7 separate regions of the Homo sapiens genome follow, and regions 1, 2, 3, 5, 6 and 7 are each linked to region 4. The links are contacts of gene promoters, found by promoter capture Hi-C in blood cells and fetal thymus (Javierre and others, 2016). All regions are on one chromosome and are shown on one strand. The core of a region is centred on a gene start or on the middle of the fragment in contact, and the rest is flanking DNA. Distances in the headings are between cores, read along the strand shown.

Region 1 (2,700 bases), core at 53-2,552, 1.5 Mb before region 4:
GATATGGTAAGAATCAATGTTTTCTTTGGGATATAGGGAATAGTATTTTTTAAGATTTTGGTTCTTTTAAGCCGGTTTCATTGTCTCATTCGTGTTCAAAATCTTTTTTCTTTTTGACTCAATATGTCCCAGGCTTATGTTATAAATAGCCTGGAACAGGCCTATTTTTCCAAAGGTTCTGGTTACTTCTAATAGTGGAACGTATATTAAGACCAAAACCAGGCCATTAGAGGTGGTTATAGCTACTGTGATATCATTCTTTTCTTTCAGGAACAATTAGGAAATACGTATTTTTAAAGATCGTGAGTTTATTGCTATTTTTCTTATTTTAAATTTGTATTTCTTATCCTTGCGCTTGTAGAAAGTCTTCGTTCCTAGCAATATCAGCATAATTGCTTATTAGCTTTGACCTTAAACATACATAAGATAGTTTCAGAACAGCAATATTAACATTGCTATGAACAATTCTAATGAAAAGTTCAAGATTTCCTGGCAGTTCTTTTTGAGATAGACTAATCTCACTAAGGATATACAGTCAAAATACTGTGCCTTAAAGCTACCGTTACCCATTCAGCATACAGTTAGATTTTTTTTTGTTTGTTTTCACTATTGGGAATTGTTTTTTCTTCATAAAAATGTAGCTCAGAGATGCCTCTCTCCCATCCAGTTACCTTTAAGATGTTTTCCTTATTGGTAGTCATTTTTATTTTCTGGCTATTTTTTTCTATTTTTATTTTATTTTTGCAAATGTAAGCAACTAAGTATGTAGATTCTTATCCTCTCCCCATCCTGCATAAAAGGTGGTATATTATAGACACTGTTTTGCACCCTGTTTTTATAACTTAAAAATACGTCTTATGTGCATAGAATAGTAGGTATGAGGATTATTCCCTATCTATCTATACGTGAGATTTTCTCGTTCTTTTTTATAGGTAGCAAATGCTTCGTTGTGTATTTGTTAACCTAGTCTCTTGATGGATATTATTGTTAATATAAATTATGTACAAAGAATAATGGGCTTATGCTATTTCATAAATGTGCAGGTATGTCTCTAGGGTAGATTTATTTAAGTGGGCATGCTGTTTTTCTAAAAAACTTTTATTTAGCTTCAGCGGTACGTGTGCAGGTTTGTTATGTAGGTAAACTGTGTCATGGGGGTTTGGTGTACAGATTATTTTGTCACCCAGGTAATAAGCCTAGTACCCGATAGGTAATTTTTGTGGTCCTCCTCCCACTCTCTGCCGTCGAGTAATCCCTGGTGTCTGTTATTCCCCTCTTTGGGTCCATGTGTTCTCATTGTTTAGCTCCCACTTATAAGTGAGAATATGTGTATTTGGTTTTCTGTTTCTGGATTAGTTTGCATAGGATAATGGCCTCCAGCTCCATCCATGTTGCCGCAAAGGATATGATCTCATGCATTTTTATGGCTGCATAGTATTCATTGGTGTGTATGTACCACATTTTCCTTAATCAGTCTCCCATTGATAGGCATTTAGGTTGATTCCATGTCTTTGCTATTGTGAATAGTGCAGCAGTGAACATACACATGTATGTGTCTTTATGGTAGAATGGCCTCAAGTGATCTGCCTGCCTTGGTCTCCGAAAGTGCTAGAATTACAGGTGCGAGCCACCGCGCCCGGCTGAGCCATGTTGTTTATGTAGTAGTACAGCAGTTCCTCACTTGGCATCATAGATAGGTTTTCGGAAACTGTGACTTTAAGCAAACTGACTTATAACAAACCCAGTTATTTTTTCTCATCAGCATTTAGTGAAATGGCATGGAACTTGTAATGCTGTTTCATTAAAGTCAGTTTCCAAGAACCTGTTGACCAAGTTAAGTGAAGGCTTACTGTAGTTTATTCATTTTATTTCTGAGTAGTATTACATTGTGTGGACATACCACAATTTGTTTATCCATTCACCTGTTGGTGGACAATGGGGTTGTTTCTAGTTATTACAAATAACATTCCTATGGACATTCCAGTTGTTCCACATCTTCAACATCTATTATGTTCAGTTTTTTTTTTTTTTTTGGGGGGGAGAGGGCATTCTGATAGATGTGCAATGGTATCTTAGTGGGTTTTAATTTGCATTTCCCTAGTGACTGATGATTATGAGCATCTTTTGTAATTTTTAGAGAGCAAGTCTAGGTTTTTTTTTAAAAAAACACTTATTCTTAAGTATTCTTTTCAATGCCATTGTGAATGAAAATTTTAAAAGTTTTTGGATTGCTCATTGTTAGTATATAGAAATACAATTGATTTTTGTGTATTGATCGTCTATTTGGTGGCCTTGCTGAACTTACTAGTTCTGGTAGTTTTTTTTGTTTTGTTTTGTTTTCTGGTAGATCCCTTAGGATTTTCTATCTATAAAATCTTGTTATCTGTGAATAAAAACAGTTTTAAGATCATCTTATCTGTGAATAAAGACAGTTTTATTTCTTTCTATTCACTCTGGATACCTTTAATTTTTTTAAATTGCCTAATTGCCCTGGCTAGAAGCCTTAGTATAATGTTGGATGGATGTGGTGAGAGCCTTCTTCATGATTTAGAGGGAAGCATTCGATCTTTCACCATTAAATACAAGATTAGCTCTAGTACATTTGTATTTTGTAGATGCCTTTATAAAGTTGAGGAAGTTCCATGTATTCTTAGTTTGTTGAAAGTTTTGATCATGAATGATTATTGTATTTTGCCAAAT
Region 2 (2,810 bases), core at 124-2,623, 1.5 Mb before region 4:
TTTTTTTTTTTGAGACGAAATCTCACTCTGTCTCCCAGGCTGGAGTGCAGTGGTGCAGTCTTGGCGCACTGCAAGCTCCACCTCCCGCCTCAGCCTCTCAAGTAGCTGGGATTACAGGCTCGTGCCACCACAACCAGCTAATTTTTTGTATTTTTAGTAGAGACGGGGTTTCGCCATGTTGGCCAGGTTAGTCTTGAACTCCTGACCTCAAGTGATCTGCCCGCCTCGGCCTCCCGAAGTGCTGGGAGCCACTGGGTCTGGCCTCTGTGGCATTTTGTGTGGTCAGTTAATCACACATGTGTTCAATGTCCTGTGTGTTCCTAGTGGTCAGGCTGCTACAAGAGGCAGGTTTATAATAAAATAAATACATTAGCCCTACTTTTATTAGGGGAGGTAGAGCTACAAAGAAGTAATCAAAGAACCAGGCAACTTGATTGTAACTTTAAGCTTACTCAGAGTTAAATAATAGAAAGTCTCATGTGGCATTTAGCTAGGGAATTTTCCTACATTTCTCCACCTCGGCTGACATTTTTAGGTTGCTTGATGAGAAAGTGGACTTAAACAAATGTAAACAGTCTCATGGTCTCTGAATGGTCTAATTTCTTGAAGCTGCTTAGTTAGCTGTTGAGAATATCATTGCACATGAACTTGACATTTATTGTTCCATTCTGCTTCTTTTGTAGGGAGAGAAGAATCTCTTAGAATTAGTGGAGCTGGCAGACCAAGCCTTGCGTAGCTTTTCCTATCATCAGCATTTCCCGCTAATAAAGGAAATCATCAGCATTTGTTCAAAGATGTAATATTTTCTTTCTTAATGTGATTACGTTATTATTGGACACTTAGGGTGTGTGTAAACTTAGAAACAGTGAAAGTGAAACTGACTGTATATCTTTGTTATTATTTTTTAGTTTAATTGCTTTTATATGTGTCTGATTTTTAAAGGGTATATGTACAGCTGCATTAGGATACTTAACTGTTATATTCAAGATTAAACTTCAAAAATGTCATGCCTACAATCAAAATGAATAATCCTTGGATTTTTATACATTTGTTTTTGGTATCCATCCAGACTATTCACACACATTGTTTATTTATCTTTAAAGTTTTAATTAATAACTTAAACTGAGAGTTTTGTAACTTTTATTACTTTGTACCTTTTTCTTATGTGGATTTTTAGAAAAGACTGTGTATTGGTTAATTTATTTTGAGGACATCAGCAAATTTCTATTTAGAACTTAGTGTCTTTATTGCTTTTGGAAAGAATAAATTCTGTGATGTGATAATCATTAACTGAGTAGGGGATTTTAAAGACATTTTGGGTTTTTAAAAATACTCTTTAAGACAGAACCTCCTCTGCCCTGAAACAAATAAGTGCTTAGGTGAGTACTTGCTAGTATTGGTTATTTTTAATAAGATCTCAGTTTGAGGAGTTGGAGTAGGAAGAAATCCCTTCCAGTATGCTTTGCAGTCTTTTGCTTACTAACTTACTTGCCTCACATGTCTTGGTTGTTTTACCTTTTCACCAGCTGGAAATCTGCTCAGGCCAGTCCATTACTACAAGGAGAAAGTCAGAAGGTGCTTCTCCATATGTTGTCTCACCCATTGCCACGAGTGAAAGCTGAAACTTACCACTGCTGTCTGGAAATCACGAAGGTGAGGTTTTGTTTTTTCGTATGTTTTGTTTTTGAGAACAAATAGTAGACTCTCTTGTTATACCTTCAAACTTAATTTACTTGACCTTTTGTATGAGATATAAGAACTATATCCCATAAAAGTAGATGATAATTACTAGTCAATTCTGGAAAATTTGTACTATTAAATTCTCTTAACTTAGTAAGTCCAGCAATTGAATTGCTTTATTTGAAGTTTTATTAAGAATTACATTTATGTTGTATTAATGATGGAAAAATTATAAGGAAAATTGATTTCCAGGTATTCAAAAGTGATTTCTATGCCCAGGAAACCTTTTAGGTTGTTGTGGCCTAGATTTTATGGTTTTAATTCTGTTTTTTTTAATGTTATTTTTTATTTTTCTTTTCTTTTGAAATATTTATTTTTCTGTCTTCTTAAATGATAAAATATTTCAGCATAGAATATTAAATATTTCAATATTGAAAAGAACACTGTACATAGGACAATATTTAAAAGTATATATATTACTGCGTACTCTTGAAAGTGTCCTTTTGTATTTAACACTCTTGTAAGTACTATTTGGTTATAATAAGTGTTTACATTTTGCCATTTTTACTTCTGATTCATTTTTATTCAAAGAAAAATACTAGTTATAGAGGAAGCTTCTTTGCTTTCTCTTCTCCCACCAGCATAGCCTAGCCACTCTTACACAGCTGGTGTATATTCTTCCCATCCAGTTGTTGTATATTATTTATAAAGCTGTATCTTTATATATAAATATTATCTTTAAATAATTTAAAGAATTTTATATATAGCATGATTAGTATATATAGCAGGATTTGAGATTTGCCTAGTTCATTCACCTTAACTGCTATTAAGTTTGAATATACTTCCTTTTATTGAATGATAAATATTTAGGTTCAGTCTCCTTTTTATTGAAGTAAGTTTTTCAGTATTTTCAGTGACAGTCTGTGACTGTGTGCATACGTTTGAAAATGTCATGATTTCACTTTATTTTGAATAGTAATTTGGCTGCATATAAAATACAGGTTGACTGCTAGTTTTTATTAGCACTTTGCCAGTATTGCTTAATTCTTATTCGGCTTCTATCATTGTTGAGAAGTCTGATATCAGTTAATTATGATTTCTTTTAATTTTTTTCTCTAGTTTGTTTTAAA
Region 3 (2,907 bases), core at 128-2,627, 1.5 Mb after region 4:
AGGTCTCCTAGGGTAAAAAGAAAGCAGACAGCCGAACTATGTTTATTCCTTGAGGCTCTAGAAGAGAATCTGTTTTTCTTGCCTTTTCTAGCTCTTAGAGGCTACCTGCATTCTTTGGCTGATGCCCTCTGATTACAACTTCAAAGTCAGAAGTTTAGTGTCTGCAAACTTCTGTCTCTGACCTTTTTTCCCACCTATTTCTTTCACTTTAAATGTCCTTTGAGATTACACTTGGACTCATCCAGATAATCCAGAAACATTTCCTTGTTTTAAGGTCAGTGGATTTGCATCCTAATTCCATTGGCAACCATAATTCTTCTTTGCCATGTAACATAGCATATTTGCAGGCTCTAGGGATTAGAACACAGGCATCTTTAGGGGGCCATTATTCTGCCTACAACAGTGGGTTTGAGACTGAAAATTACAATTGCTGTCCATACTTAGTTAATCTCAAATTTTATGGTTATGAATTGTATGAGAATTTCTGATGATTCTCTCCCCAGTTCTACTAATTAAACTTTTGCATCTAAATCTTATAACTTAATATGAGACTAATAATGCCCATTTATTAATTATTTAATAAATATAAGTATATATTCAATTTATATGTATATATGTGTATATATGTGAGTGGGTATATATGTGTGGGTATGTGTATATACATGTATAAATAATACATATAAATACATATATATATATATATATATATATATATATATATATATATATATATATATATGGGCTTTCAGAGGAACCAATTATGTCAGAAAAAAACCCAGATGTTGTCATTGTATACACAAAAAAATAATTATAGTATTCATACATTTCTAAATAATATTCTGACATTATAAACATTTTGAGTGTTGAGAGCTGATATTAGGTTGGACCAAGGTTATAGTATTTCATGTGGATAGAAGAGATCAGATTCTTTATATAGTTATAGCCAACAGAATTTTATGGAAGTAACATGTGTGTAGATCAGGAAATAAAAGTGTAAGTCAATAATAACTCTAATGATTTTAGTCTGAGGAAATGGAAAAATGTGCTGGGAAAGGTTCCATTGAGTTTTGAACACTTTGAGTTTTTAATGTCCATTACCATTTTAAGGAGTGAGGATACATGTGCAGTTGGCTATGCAAGTCTGGAGTTTAAAAGGTAGAGTGGATATTTACAGGTATGAATCATTCACATGTCAGTGTGAAGCCATGAGGCTGAAGGAGAACATCAAATAGCTGGATAAAGACACCAATGAGAAAAGGACCAAGGATTGAATTCTGGCACAGGCTGGCAATAAAGAGGTCGTGTAGAAAGTGATACATCAGCAAATGAGATTAAAAACAAACAAACAAGAGGTACCAGAGTCAGGAGAGATTTTAGAACTCTACACACCAAGAGAAGAAAGTATGCCAATGAAGAGGGAGACATCAGTAATGATAAATTCTGCTGATAGGCCTAGTGAAATAGGGCCTGATCAACGAATGCTGAATTTACCATTGATCATTTAATCATCAATGAAATTGGCTCTGGGGCCTTGTGAAAATGCTTCTTTTATTGAACAGGACGCAATACTAAGTTGCTTTAAGAAGTCATTTTCCCTGCTACTGTCCCAATCTTTTGTAGTTTAAACAGGTGGGGCCACTGGAGGCTATAATTAGTTACCATATTCCCCTTGATATTGGTCAGATAAGGCATTTAGCAATAACTTAATTCATTTTTATTGGATTAACAAGTACTCAGTGTGAAAAGAAGAGAATCTGATGACTGATTAGTGACCAGTAGCCTCTAGCATCCCTATCCTGAATCATCCAATCCCTATGTAGCAGGTGTGAGGCTGGTATGTAGGTTTGGTCTCTGATATCCTTTCTAGGATCGACTCACTCTTCATCGTAGGCCTACCAACAAGATTCTCACTGCTGACCTACTATCCCATACTTCTCTACTGAATATGCAATACGCAATAAGCTATTCATCTGGCATTTCAATACTACTTGACCTGGATTTTTTCATCATTTTGTTCAGCCTCTATGTAGGGTACTTGATGGCAAGTAAACCTCATGTTCAGTTGACTGACCTAAATGAAGGTTGTTGTATCTTTTTAAAACTGTACCTGGATGATGATCCAGAGCCAGCCAATTCATGACACAGCCCTTCTAAGTCAGAAAGTGTTGTCTCCTGCAAGTTCCTAAGTATATGCCCCTACACTTCCCATTTTCTCTAATTGGCTAATTTCTAGAGCCACAAAACACTTGAATGGATCATGTTAAAAATGTCCATGTACATAAATATAACCATATTTATAAAATATATTTTTTAAATTCTTCACAAATATTTGCTAATTTGTCTCCTTGTAAGACACTGGAAAGAAGAACAGAATGTTTCCTAATTTCCTGTTGTCTTCTGTAATAGGAGAAACTGTGAGTGTATTACCCAGATTTGTTTTTTCTCACTTCAAATCATTGGTGTACCCAGCAAGATATTTCATCACATTGACTTCCTTTGCTTTCAAATAACTGTTTGATTGTGGGTAACAGCAACCAGAGATAAAATGATTCTGAGAAAAACCTAGCTGATATGTGAGCAGCACTAAAATGAATAAGGAAGACCACCTAAGACGACTGCCTCACTTGCAAAGATGTGACTGAGCCCCAGAGTGGTGTTTTTCTGTTAAGATTCTGATCATTCTATACTAAAATATAGAGAGGAGGAAGTGTAGATTGTATTTTGCAGTGTTGTCACTTTAGGGAGTGTAGGCTACCTAAAAAGCTCTGGAAAGTTTGATACTGGACAGATGCTTAAGGACTGCGTGCAGTCTATAGGATGAAGCATAAAATCTGCCACCAGGCTGCACCCTTTTTGGCATTTATAGTGTTGGCTGGTGACTCCTGCCTTTAAAATAAATTATAGATG
Region 4 (2,700 bases), core at 6-2,505:
AGAGGAAATTATTTCACTTTGCATGCTGTGGAAGACAGAAAACTTTGAAATACATGAGAATGAAAAAAAAAAATTGAATATGGGTCATTCAGAGACCTTGCCAAGAAAGTAGAAAAGCTTCTGTATAAGAGTATCGAGGCGATGGTACTATTATAAAGCTGTTCCACCACCACCGGGAGAACATTCCCATCATTTCAACAGTCCCCTTACGTTTTAGTCTACTTTTTTCTTAAAAAAAAAAGAAAAAAAGGAAAAGAGAAAGAAAAAGAAAAATTGAATCTGTAGAGGGCTTGCGCTGGATACCATGCTGCATGCACAAAGGGGGTGACATTTAGGGCTTGCTCTCAATTAGAGTGCAATTTAATCTTCTAGTCACTAGGAATAACGACGTTTTATGACATTTTTGCCTGTTGGAATTTTGAACCTAAGGTGAACCGGCTGACATCATATCCCCCTTCTGTTGTTGTCACAGGTTTTCAAAATTTGGTTTGATCTAAATTCTCTGGTACCTTATGTCCCATAAAAATTTCATCTAGTTCGTAAGTAGTGATTGCTGCAGTAACCGTCTTATAAAAGTATATGGTTTTTACAAATCATTGTCGTATAGAAGAAAAAACAGGTAGCAATATAAATATTTCATACTACTTTATCTAGTTCCAAAATAATCAGAAAAGAGCCATCAAAAAATATCCTACGCTTAACTTCATGTTCTCAAGTTTCAAGAGAAAGTTTTTAAAGAGGCAATCCTTACTTTGGCAAAAATGCATTAAAGCTTGCTGCATTTAAGAGATGTCCCATTATGCAAACAGGTTGAAAGAATATTACAAATACGTTTTGGAAAAATACGGAGTGTCGCGCAGCTCAGCAATCCGCAGTCTTAATGCGCGCCTCTTTCCAGGAATTTGATCCAGCATCAAAACCCACAGGTGCACTCACCACACGGGAGTAACAAGTAAATGATGTGCCAGTATTCAACCTGCAAGTGCGTCGTCAGAGCCTACCTCACCCTCAGCATAACTTTCACCGGTATTCACCTTCCCGGAAACGCGCCCCAGTGAACCAGCACCGTTTTCCCTAGTAAAGCCCTTAAGCAGGGTTCCCACGCTCCTGGGCGTGGAGGGGGGCACCGAGAGCGCAAAGGATTCTTAAGACATGACTGCGCAGGCGCTGTCGCATGCGCCGCACTCCCCTCGCATGCGCCGCACTCCCGCGCATAGCCGGAGACGGAGACTGGCCGGGTAGCCCCGCCCCCGTAGTTAGCGCGGTGCTTCTCTTCCGCTCCGGGTCGGCTCCGTTTCCCTTTCCGGGCGGGCAGGCGGCGGACCCCAGTGTCTTTATCCCTCTTTTGCACAGTCAGCTTCTGCAGCTCTCCCGGGCTAGCATGGCAGCGTGGAAGAGTTGGACGGCCCTGCGGCTCTGCGCCACAGGTAATGGGGGCTCAGCGGTCGGGACGCTGGCGGGCGCGTGGGACCTGGCCCCGCCGTGGGGCCGGGATTGGACCCGGGTCTGGGGCGAGGCCTGCGGGGTTCGTGGAGATGCCCACCCATTCCCGGCAGCGTCCTGCCGCCCCCGCCGCGCCACCCTGCCTGGCCCTGACGGAGCGGACACCTTGGGGTCCTTCCGCCGCCGCTGTGCCGGACCAATGCTGGACGTGGGAAGGGCGCGCTGCCTTGTGTTTGTGTTTTTCTCATTGTGGCAGAAGTTTCAATAAAGCTTACTCCTTTGATGGGCAAGAAGGATGCCGCCGTCCCAGCTTAACGACCAAATCTTGCCTTGGCTTTAGGTTCCGAGTCTTGTCACGTTTAAGGATTTTTACCACCAGTACTCAAGAGAGGGTGGTCGAGGACAGATCAGGGTCAGGCCGCCGGGATTGTGCGGTGTGAAAAGGACCTGAGTGTGTGTCAGCGGTTCTCAGCTGCCTCCCGTCAGCATGGAGTGCCCTCATTCTCACTGGGGTCCGCTCACTTAACAACCTTTTAGAGCCCACTCTGTGTCAGGCACTGCCGTGTAATAAGTATTAGAGTTGCAGCTCGACTTTCTTCCTACGTATCTATTTGAGGGGAAATATTTTGAATGGCATTTGGAGTTTTTACGGAAGAGGTAATTGCTACTAAAGCAAAAGAAATAAAGAAGAATGCTGTCTATTTGTATTCCAAAAAGATAGGATGGTTAAAAAGAGACGTAAGATGAGAGTGAAAATATGGAGGAAAAAGGAACTGTGTGTATTAGATTTATTGGCTTACCTAGAACTTGGCCGGTCACGATATGGTTGCATACAGACTAAATATTTATTAAATGGATGAACTACCTTTGCTTTTGCATCATTTGCACCCTGGGATGCATCAGTGATGAATTTTTTGGTAGGTTGTGAAAGGTCAAAAACACTTCAGAGATGACTAAGCTTATACGGTATGAGCCAAATAATCAGCATTTATTGTGTACATTTTGTCTTTTTTTTTCAGTTGTTGTACTTGATATGGTCGTCTGTAAAGGATTTGTAGAAGATTTAGATGAATCGTGAGTATACATATATATATTTAAAATATTATTTTAACTGTCCAACTCAGATATCTGAATATTTGCATGTGATTCTAATATTTTAGATTGGAACCAATTTTTATATATCACTCATTTTTTTCACTTGTTGTAAGTGAAGGTGAGGGTGTGCCCAGAAGAGTTTTATTAATAGTTATGAGATCA
Region 5 (2,970 bases), core at 447-2,946, 1.4 Mb after region 4:
CTTTTGGGTATATATGTAGAATTTGATTCCAAGTAGTTAGGTTGAATATCAAGACATGCTAGGAAGAAATAATTCCCACGTATTTCTGTCTCGCATATTCATTTCTTAGTGTAATTACATTAAGAGATCTGGTTCTCTTACCAACAGAGAAATCAAGATAAATAAAAACATTTTTCTTCTTCTAAATTTTCTTTAGAATAATTTCCTGTGTTGATCTCTTGGTTTCCTAGAGACTGTCAAAATGAAACAGATTCTAAGAAAGTTAAATAAAGACTTCTTTTTATATCTTAAAGAATAAGCAGTCTCTCAGGCATATACGTTTTAGTGACAAGTAAAGTCAGCAATTATCCTTAGAAAAAATTAGTTAAAATATTCTTCAAATTACAATGCTAGTAGAGAGTGAGATTATTTAAAACTTTTATTAATATAAACATTTCTTCAATCATTATCAATTTCTCCTTAAAAAGGTGTTTGTTGAAAAGTTGATTTACTTAACTTCACTGTATATAAAAATATAAAGTGATACAGAAATGTTGGTAATAGATTTTTACAGAATTATTTCTGTATTTATATATTTTTTTATTTTGCTGAAGTATGAATACTTACAGTAAACTCTAGAGATGTTATACAGTTCCATGGGAGTTTTCAAAAGCATAAGGCAAACTACATACATCTCTACCAAGATACAAAACATTTCTATTATCCCAGAAACTTCCTTCATGTCCCTTTCCAGTCAATCCCCTCGAAGCCTAGAGACCGTCACTTTCCTCCAATTTTGTCAGACATTAATTATTCTTGAATAACAGATTAATTTTTATTAATATCTTAGACATTCAAAGTTATGAAAATGCAATTTCTCCTAGTAAATCTGTTGAGTTATTTTCTTCCTTGGTCAGTCCTGTCTTACTGTGTCTTTATCATGAATATGAAATATGAAATTGCAGAAGCAATGAATAGAAAAAATATTTAAGCTTATAATTTGTAATGTCAACCTCTGAATTTAAAGATAAGTGAAAGATGATTGAAAATAGTTTTATTTACTAAGAATAATCTAAGCATGAAAAACAATAAGCACATGAGTGCTCCCGTCTGAAAGCTTCTACTTCTTTATGCCTAAAAAGGAAGGTATAATTTTGAAATATAATGATATATGAAATTTGAAATTTTGAAAAAGCACAAGAAAAATGGGCTGGAAATAAAATCCAGTAGCTCATTTTAGAGTAATGAAAAAGTTTTGTAGAAACAAAAAGAAAAGCTAATGCGTACAGAAATTTCATATTAATTTGCTACACCTATGAAAGAAATAGACTTTTAGGTCTTCTGTACCTGTTTGTATGTAAGTGTGGTTTTTTGTTTGTTGGTTTTGTTTTTTACATAATCTTAGAGTAGTTGTTTAGCTCTGGACTTGAGAGTTACCGCGCTAGATTTCTGATGCAAAAACTTGAAATCCTCAAAGGGATAGATCTATCTCAGAGCCTACCAAACTCTTTAAAATTTGCATATATGGGAAGATGTCTAAAATAAACTGTCGCTACAATTACAATTTTCTTTAATATTTCTAATACAAATAAGAGATGCTATGTTGTGTAATAACAAAATATTTTATATCCTTGATATTACTCTGCTACAAAAAGATAAGTTATATCAACTCAGAAAGAAAAATTTGTAGACCACTATAGGAAATATGTTTAATATTTTCAAGGGTGTAGTCTATATTCAATTCAGACATTTTAAAAGGCCAAAACTATTTTATTATGTTTCTTTCAAAGTTATGACTCATGATAAGTGTAAAGAAGCCTTCATAGAGATACTTTCTCTTTCTGTTTTGGCTGGGATATCAAAGGAGCTAGAGATTGGAAAGCTAGTTTTACCCCGTCAGTGATCACCTAGTAAAGACAGTAGACAGTAGAGTGAGGATTTGTTTGGGAAAACTTTTCCATGTGTTCTCTGTTCCTAAAGCCCTACTGCCACAGGGAGAAAAGAAGGCACCTTTCCCTTTCATCAGATGAAAGTATCTTCAAGCAAAATACTTACTTCCTGGAATTTTTAGTTGATAACAGAGAAAAATGGCTGTATTGTAAACCAACTGCAGTATAAAACCTGTAAGATTTATTTTGGCAAAATGTACCTGTGACAGGAAGTAGATTCATGTTAGACTTACACATAGCTAGAAAATTACTTAGAGTAATGGTTCTCAAAGTGTGGTCTGTGAACCAGCAGCAGCAGCATCCACTGGGACCTTGTTATTCATGCAAATTATTGGGCCCTAACCCAGATGATTGAATCAGAAGCTTGTGATTCGCAAGCACTCCAGGTGATTTTGATGCCTGCTGATGTGAGAGAGGTGGTGCTGGTGGAGAGAGAGTCTGTGTGAAGAGGATGACTTATGGCCTGAGGCAGAGAGAGGAGTCCACAGCCAGCACCTAGAATATGGATGTCAGAAATCCACAATTGTAAGTTCCCTCAGAGAGGGATCCAGGACTGATAGATCCAGCCAGTTGTGACTTCTTCATCTCCTAAGGGAATGAACTCTAGATTCCAGTTGCTCTGGATTTGCAAAAGTGTTCACATTCCCTAATGCAGGGCCCCTCAGCCTGACTCAGGATCTTGGTAATGGACATGATTTTTTTTTTTTTTTTTTTTTTTTTTTTTTGCTGAATACCTATTAAAACCAAGGCCCTGAGGCACTTTATAAAATACCTAAGCCTGATAAGTTAAAATTGAAAGTGTGGGTAAAGTTCTGTGAATTCTGATACACAAAGAGGTATGAGAGGTACTGGACTAGTGAGAATCTGAGGAGGCAAAAATATAAACAAAAGAAGAATTCCAGCTTCTTCCATCCTATCTCCACTGCATGCATCTAAGCCTGAAAACTCCATAAAAGGATCAGGTAGAAGGTAGAAAAAGAAAGAAGTTTTCCTGAACAGGACTTTTAAACTACTAACTCCATTAATATTTCAATCCACTCAA
Region 6 (2,782 bases), core at 136-2,635, 1.4 Mb after region 4:
TGGTGAGCCCTTGCATGTCCGTTAACATATTGGCCACAGAAGTACTGTTCATATGTCACACTTTACCACCCAGATCAACATGCAGCTCCTGGAATTCCTCCAGATTACATTATTATATCCCCACTCTAAATTTCTAAAAAAGGTTACTGCTGGTAACATTCTTTAATACCTAGTGCTATACTTATAGGTGTGTAAGATGTCTGTGCTAATGATACGCCAAGAATTCCAGAGTAAATGCTGTTTCTTAAAGATCATTACATCCCCTAGAGCCGAGCTATTTGTAAGGACTTTTCAGAAAGTATCACTTAATACATTTTAAATTGGATTTAATTGTACCCAGGATGCATGGTGTTTTTAATATCACTCACCAGGAAATAAACTTTAAAAGTGGGTTAACAAATAAAATGCTCACGGCAGTGTTAATTTCCCCTTTCCTCAGGCCCTAGGCAAACTCTGCTTTTAATCATATTTTATTGTGCTTGCCTATTCATGTCTGTTTTCCCTGATGGTCAATGCATTTCTTGAAGACATGGGACTGTGTCTTTCTTCTTTCTTTCCTTTTTCTCCTCCTCTTCCCCTTCTTCTTATCCTTCTACTTTCTCTCTCTTCCTTTCTTCCTCTCTTTCTCTATCTCTCTTTATCTCTCTATGCACACATATAAAATATATGCACATATCTGTTTATATTTGTATATATCTCTAGTCCACGCAATAACACATTGCTTATATAAATTTGATGTCTAGTTCTTCTTGAATAAATTATTCATTTAGATTTCAAGCTTGATACTAAATATTTAAATTTTTACTGTGCATTCCATTTGTCACACTTTGTTTGCAATGGAGAGAAGAGCCAGTGAGTAGTACGTCTTTGTTAATAAACAGAATGCATCTCTGCTTCTCTTCTCACCATGATAACCTGAGTTGGAGAACCCGACAAATGATAAATGGAAAAAGTGATGGCCTTTTTTGTTGTTGTTTTCTTTCTCCTAAGGCTGTGGAATCTAGAGATAACCACAAGAATATATTGAAAGTTCTATTTTTTCTTTAAATCTCCTTCACTCTGCTTGGGTGTTTTAACGTCTTCCTAGGGAGAAAAGATTACCAGTCACTCCTCTTTATCTCTTCATTCATGTAACAAATGCTTATAGAATTCCTATTGTGGGCTAGGCATGATTTTAGTCCCGCAGGCAATTGCAGCTTATTAACAAGAAAACAGTGTCTTCTGCTGTCAAGAAGAGTCCAGGGCAGTCACAACCCACACATTACTGGGTCTGTTTCTTAGGCCAGTATATGATATCAACAAATATCAGCTCCACAAAACAGTTCTTTGAAGTAGTTAAAAGTATCCATATTTCACAGATGAGGAAACTGAGTCAAAGAGAGTTTCCAAGACTGGAACATGACAAATGTCCAGCCCCCTTGATTTAGCTCCTAACCAGAGGAGGTAGTGTTCTGTTGTGTTTTGATTTCATTCATTAAATGACAGATCTCTAGTGAGGTGGTGGTTGTTCCTTGTAGGCTGTTCTTTTTTTTTCTTTTTCTTTTTTTTCACCATTTCTACCTCCGTGGAGTTGAGGTAGTTAATATTTCTGAGCTGGTACTTTCTTTGCCAAATCTTTCTCTTTTTCCATTGTGTTGTGAATGCCTACCTTGCAACATATTTGAAATATAGAATGAATGAAAACAAACAAGAAAAATACCCCAAACATTTTAATGAACACAAGGATTTTAAAAAATATATCCGTTTCAATAGATACCATAATAGACCCATAGGTGGGGCAAAGCGAATGTTAGTCAGATACATTAATTTAAAAAAAATGAATTTTATTGCAATATGTATTTAAGTATTAGAAGAAAGAAATGAATGTACACCACATACATATAGTACTTCATTTTATTCTCAATCAACCATGTAATGTTGGTGTTATGATGCTTCTTTGCCTCATGAGTAACTTGAGGTTGCACAGATCTTTATAAATTCTAAAAAGCTTTCATTGAGAATAACAACCATGCCTCAAACGTTTCAGTATAGCCGGTGTTTATTAGGTGGTTTTAAGACTCAGGCTATGCAATTTTCTTAATACACATTTTTTTTAATCCGACTTTCCTTTATTACTTAGACAGGTGTTCTGTAGGTAACGGTTTTCTGTATGCTGCTGAAGCATACAGTATTTCTACTATATAAAGGTAGAAAACATGTTACATATGTGAATACTTCTGTTCAAGGCTCTGATTCTTGGGAAATAAAAAGAAATAAAAACATGTGACCAAAATGATAAAAAGGGTCAAATTATTATATATGTCTCATGATCAGGTAACATTAGTGAGTATATTTGCTTCCCCACATTCACGCAAAAATCGCCTCATTTCTGCTATGCAATTCAATATGAAGCATAATCAAGCAATTCAATTAAAATGGAAATAATAACAAGATAAGGACGTTGAGCAGCTACACTCAGCTTGAACTTGAATATACTATCTTTTCTGTTCCATCTTTTTTATATATATTCAGCATTTGATTAGTGCACATTACATCATTCTCAAGCATAGTGAAATATTTTATACTTTGTCAGAAATATCTCACAGCCTTGTGACACTCATAATTCTTTGAAAAATTTTAAATAAAACAATCAAACTACCAGCTCTTCCATAGCATCTCTACTCACAAATTCTCTACATCTGTTCAGCAATGTTGACATGCAGGCTGCTGCTGCCCAGCTAGAAATAACCTTTCTGTTATCCCTTCCAAAATAAAACTGCTTTTCATTTCCATTGATTTTAGC
Region 7 (2,833 bases), core at 303-2,802, 1.5 Mb after region 4:
TTTTGTGTGGCTGCGGAGTATTCCATGATGTATATATTTCACATTTGATTTATCCAGTTATCCATTGATGGACATGAATCCATGACTTCACTATTGTGAATAGTGCCACTACAAGCATATGAGTATAGGTCATATGTGTCTTTATTATATAATGATTTATTTTCCTGTGAGTAGATATTCAGAAGTGGGATTGCTGGGTCAAATTATCTATCAATTTTTTAAAATTAATATCATCTTAAAGACATTGTCATTATGAAATTCTATATTAAATATGAGATATATCTAAGAATAATAAGATACAACTGAAATTAATTGAGTAATCTATTTTACTATGATTTTGTTTTATTTTAGGTGCTGCATGTTAGACAACTTTTTTGATAGTATAGTTCACAAAAATTTTATAGGAAGTAAAGCATAGTTTTCCTTCCATACTTTACTTCCTATAAAATATATTTATTCCTCGTATATACCATACAAGGAATATACCTCGTATATTCCATGCATGGAATATTCCTCGTATATTCCATGCATGGAATATTCCTCGTATATTCCATGCAAGGAATATTCCTCGTATATTCCATGCAAGGAATATTCCTCGTATATTCCATGCAAGGAATATTCCTCGTATATTCCATGCAAGGAATATTCCTCGTATATTCCATGCATGGAATATTCCTCGTATATTCCATGCAAGGAATATTCCTTGTATATACAATAACTTCTTATTCTTAAAATGATATCTTTAAAAAGTACCTTGATATTCTGATCTATGTAAACTGTATATTTTTCTCATGGTTAAACTTCAATCATACTACCTGCAACCTTGAAAATTGACCTAAATGTATTTTGTAGCAAATACACTCAATAAATTTTTACTAAATGAATACGTGTTGTTTTATTTAATTGATTTTTCCAATTAGTAAGGCAAAGGTAAGTGCACCAACATTTACCTTTACTGAGCCCACTACCCGTAAGCTTATATAAGTTGTCTCACTTTAACAGTTTTTGTAACTGAATTTCATCATGGAGATGAAGTATGAGGTCTTGCAGACAAGTTGCTATGAAATCTACATCAGTATGGCACATCAGTCGATTTCATATATCCTTACAAATGACTTCTGATCCCCTTCTTTGTGTCTGTTTTTATCTGTTCCTTATAAGTATCGCTTGAAACAATTAGTCGTCTGATGTCCTTAGGTTTCCAAACATTCACATTAAGCTCTTGTAAACCTTTACAGAGTACAAAATCAATGTTGAGACTTTTTCGGGATTATTTTGTCTGCTTCTTTTAAGTGTGCTGTTGAATGTGCCTCAAATAATTTCAGTGCATGTGTGACGAGAACAGGCTAAATCACAGACTGAGTCTAGAGAGCTGATTATTAGTAAACCCTAAACAGGAAGCTGGGATAAAAGGCTAAGTAATTAGAAAATCAGACAAGTATGAAGATCTAAGACAAACATTCTGAGAATGTAAACAACTTGATCAGGAAAAGAAAAAGAAAAGAAAGAAAAGGCATATGCAAAAAAAAAAAAAAAAAAAAAAAAATTAAAAGCCCAGAAGTGTAGACAGATTAATTGGCTTCACAAAGAAAAAGAAATCACACAGCTGTCATATTCACTCAAGACATAAAAAATGATGTGTGGATCTATGATAGAAAAAAAAGCATAAAAGCAATGGAAAGTGTCTATGTGTCCGTACCATTCTTTCAAATTGCATGGCTTAGACATAATCATACCAATTTAAAACAAGTGCCAGTTACAGCTCTGGAAAGTGACTATTTGGAGATCTCCATCACCCTTAGGTGACATATTCACAGCTTCTAGATAGGACATTATGTTGAGGGACTTATCATAAATAAGAACAGCACTCTAACATGAGTCAAATAATTCAATAGTATATGCCTACACATAAGGGAGAAATCTTTCCTATTCAAGCAAGTATACCAAGTAATGAAGGCAAAGAGAATGAAAGTTACAGAGCAGTCATCTTATGAAAGTGAAAATGCAAAGTGAAGCATGCTGCAACTTGTAAAAAACAATGAAATCACAGGAGCAAATCAGATTAGCGGCACCAAAAAATGGTTTAACCTGCTGAATCAAGTGCTTTTTAAGCTGGAACACAAGCTTGAATAAGACAACCCCGGAACTACAAAATAACTTCTCTCTTTTCCTAATGCTAGCCTTGCTCTATCTTCAGCATATCAAGTTCCTTTTATCTTTTTTTTCCCTGAGCCCTTAAATCTTATTAATTACTTTGTGATATTGGTAATGCTTTTTACATTTTGAGAAATATTGTGAAACATTTAATTCAATGGAGTGTAGAAAGTTATCTAGCTCCACCCACATAGTCTATCCAGGTTTCTTCTACCCATGTGATTCTGAATTTCTGTTCGCCAACCCCCAAATCATTTTCTCCTCTTCCCATGCAAACCCTTATTCCACAAATTATGAAAAACTACCGTGATGGTTAAAAATCTATTTATACCCCTTCATCACTTGAAAATAGTACTTTCACTGTAGTCTCTGTAATCAAGAGTTGCTCATCAGGTATTTATGTGCTGGTCAGAATACTGACCTCTCCAAAGTGTCACATCTTAATAGTCAGAACTTGTGAGGACATCACAGTACCTGGGGAAAAGAGGGACTTTGCATTTAGATTTAATGTTAGGGGCCTTAAAATAGAGATTACCTTACATTATCTCAGTGGGCCCAATCTAACCACATGAGCTCTTAAAAGCAAACAAAACAAAACAAAACCGTTTTTCCAGCTGGAGTTAGAGAGATACAGTAGAAAGGGAAGAAACCAAGAGGTTTGAAGCATGAATTTTATGTC

What was found. The method cuts DNA at HindIII sites, captures the fragments that hold promoters and counts their contacts. A CHiCAGO score of 5 or more calls a contact.
Region 1: a fragment that was not itself captured here is called in contact with the fragment with the promoter of TMX3 in region 4 in 12 of 17 cell types (total CD4 T cells, activated CD4 T cells, non-activated CD4 T cells and 9 more); the score reaches 24.0 in total CD4 T cells.
Region 2: a fragment that was not itself captured here is called in contact with the fragment with the promoter of TMX3 in region 4 in 8 of 17 cell types (total CD4 T cells, non-activated CD4 T cells, M1 macrophages and 5 more); the score reaches 11.9 in total CD4 T cells.
Region 3: a contact is called between a fragment that was not itself captured here and the fragment with the promoter of TMX3 in region 4, in 7 of 17 cell types (total CD4 T cells, naive CD8 T cells, total CD8 T cells and 4 more). The highest score is 12.6, in total CD4 T cells.
Region 5: a contact is called between a fragment that was not itself captured here and the fragment with the promoter of TMX3 in region 4, in 4 of 17 cell types (naive CD4 T cells, endothelial precursors, total CD4 T cells and 1 more). The highest score is 6.0, in naive CD4 T cells.
Region 6: a fragment that was not itself captured here is called in contact with the fragment with the promoter of TMX3 in region 4 in 1 of 17 cell types (total CD4 T cells); the score reaches 5.8 in total CD4 T cells.
Region 7: a contact is called between a fragment that was not itself captured here and the fragment with the promoter of TMX3 in region 4, in 3 of 17 cell types (naive CD8 T cells, total CD8 T cells and naive CD4 T cells). The highest score is 15.3, in naive CD8 T cells.

What each region holds. Positions count from the first base shown.
Region 1 is chr18:70,185,414-70,188,113 of GRCh38, reverse strand. It overlaps RTTN (rotatin), which reads left to right. Exons shown (of 49, transcript NM_173630.4): 10 at 1-6. Among named protein-coding and RNA genes, the nearest start is that of RTTN, 19 kb to the left of the region's middle. The HindIII fragment of the contact is 3,709 bases long and covers 1-2,700 here.
Region 2 is chr18:70,164,905-70,167,714 of GRCh38, reverse strand. RTTN (rotatin) reads left to right here. Exons shown (of 49, transcript NM_173630.4): 13 at 684-796; 14 at 1,527-1,653. Among named protein-coding and RNA genes, the nearest start is that of RTTN, 39 kb to the left of the region's middle. RefSeq lists an enhancer at 1,378-1,507. The HindIII fragment of the contact is 1,847 bases long and covers 450-2,296 here.
Region 3 is chr18:67,241,136-67,244,042 of GRCh38, reverse strand. No RefSeq gene overlaps it. Among named protein-coding and RNA genes, the nearest start is that of MIR5011, 160 kb to the right of the region's middle. The HindIII fragment of the contact is 3,640 bases long and covers 1-2,907 here.
Region 4 is chr18:68,713,663-68,716,362 of GRCh38, reverse strand. TMX3 (thioredoxin related transmembrane protein 3) reads left to right here and starts at 1,255. Exons shown (of 16, transcript NM_019022.5): 1 at 1,255-1,427; 2 at 2,463-2,517. The coding sequence starts at 1,382. It also overlaps a transcript of CCDC102B not described here. RefSeq lists an enhancer at 928-997 and silencers at 1,198-1,327, 1,508-1,607. The HindIII fragment of the contact is 941 bases long and covers 775-1,715 here.
Region 5 is chr18:67,301,101-67,304,070 of GRCh38, reverse strand. No RefSeq gene overlaps it. Among named protein-coding and RNA genes, the nearest start is that of DSEL-AS1, 210 kb to the left of the region's middle. The HindIII fragment of the contact is 1,195 bases long and covers 1,099-2,293 here.
Region 6 is chr18:67,278,194-67,280,975 of GRCh38, reverse strand. No RefSeq gene overlaps it. Among named protein-coding and RNA genes, the nearest start is that of MIR5011, 200 kb to the right of the region's middle. The HindIII fragment of the contact is 1,209 bases long and covers 781-1,989 here.
Region 7 is chr18:67,261,268-67,264,100 of GRCh38, reverse strand. No RefSeq gene overlaps it. Among named protein-coding and RNA genes, the nearest start is that of MIR5011, 180 kb to the right of the region's middle. The HindIII fragment of the contact is 1,149 bases long and covers 978-2,126 here.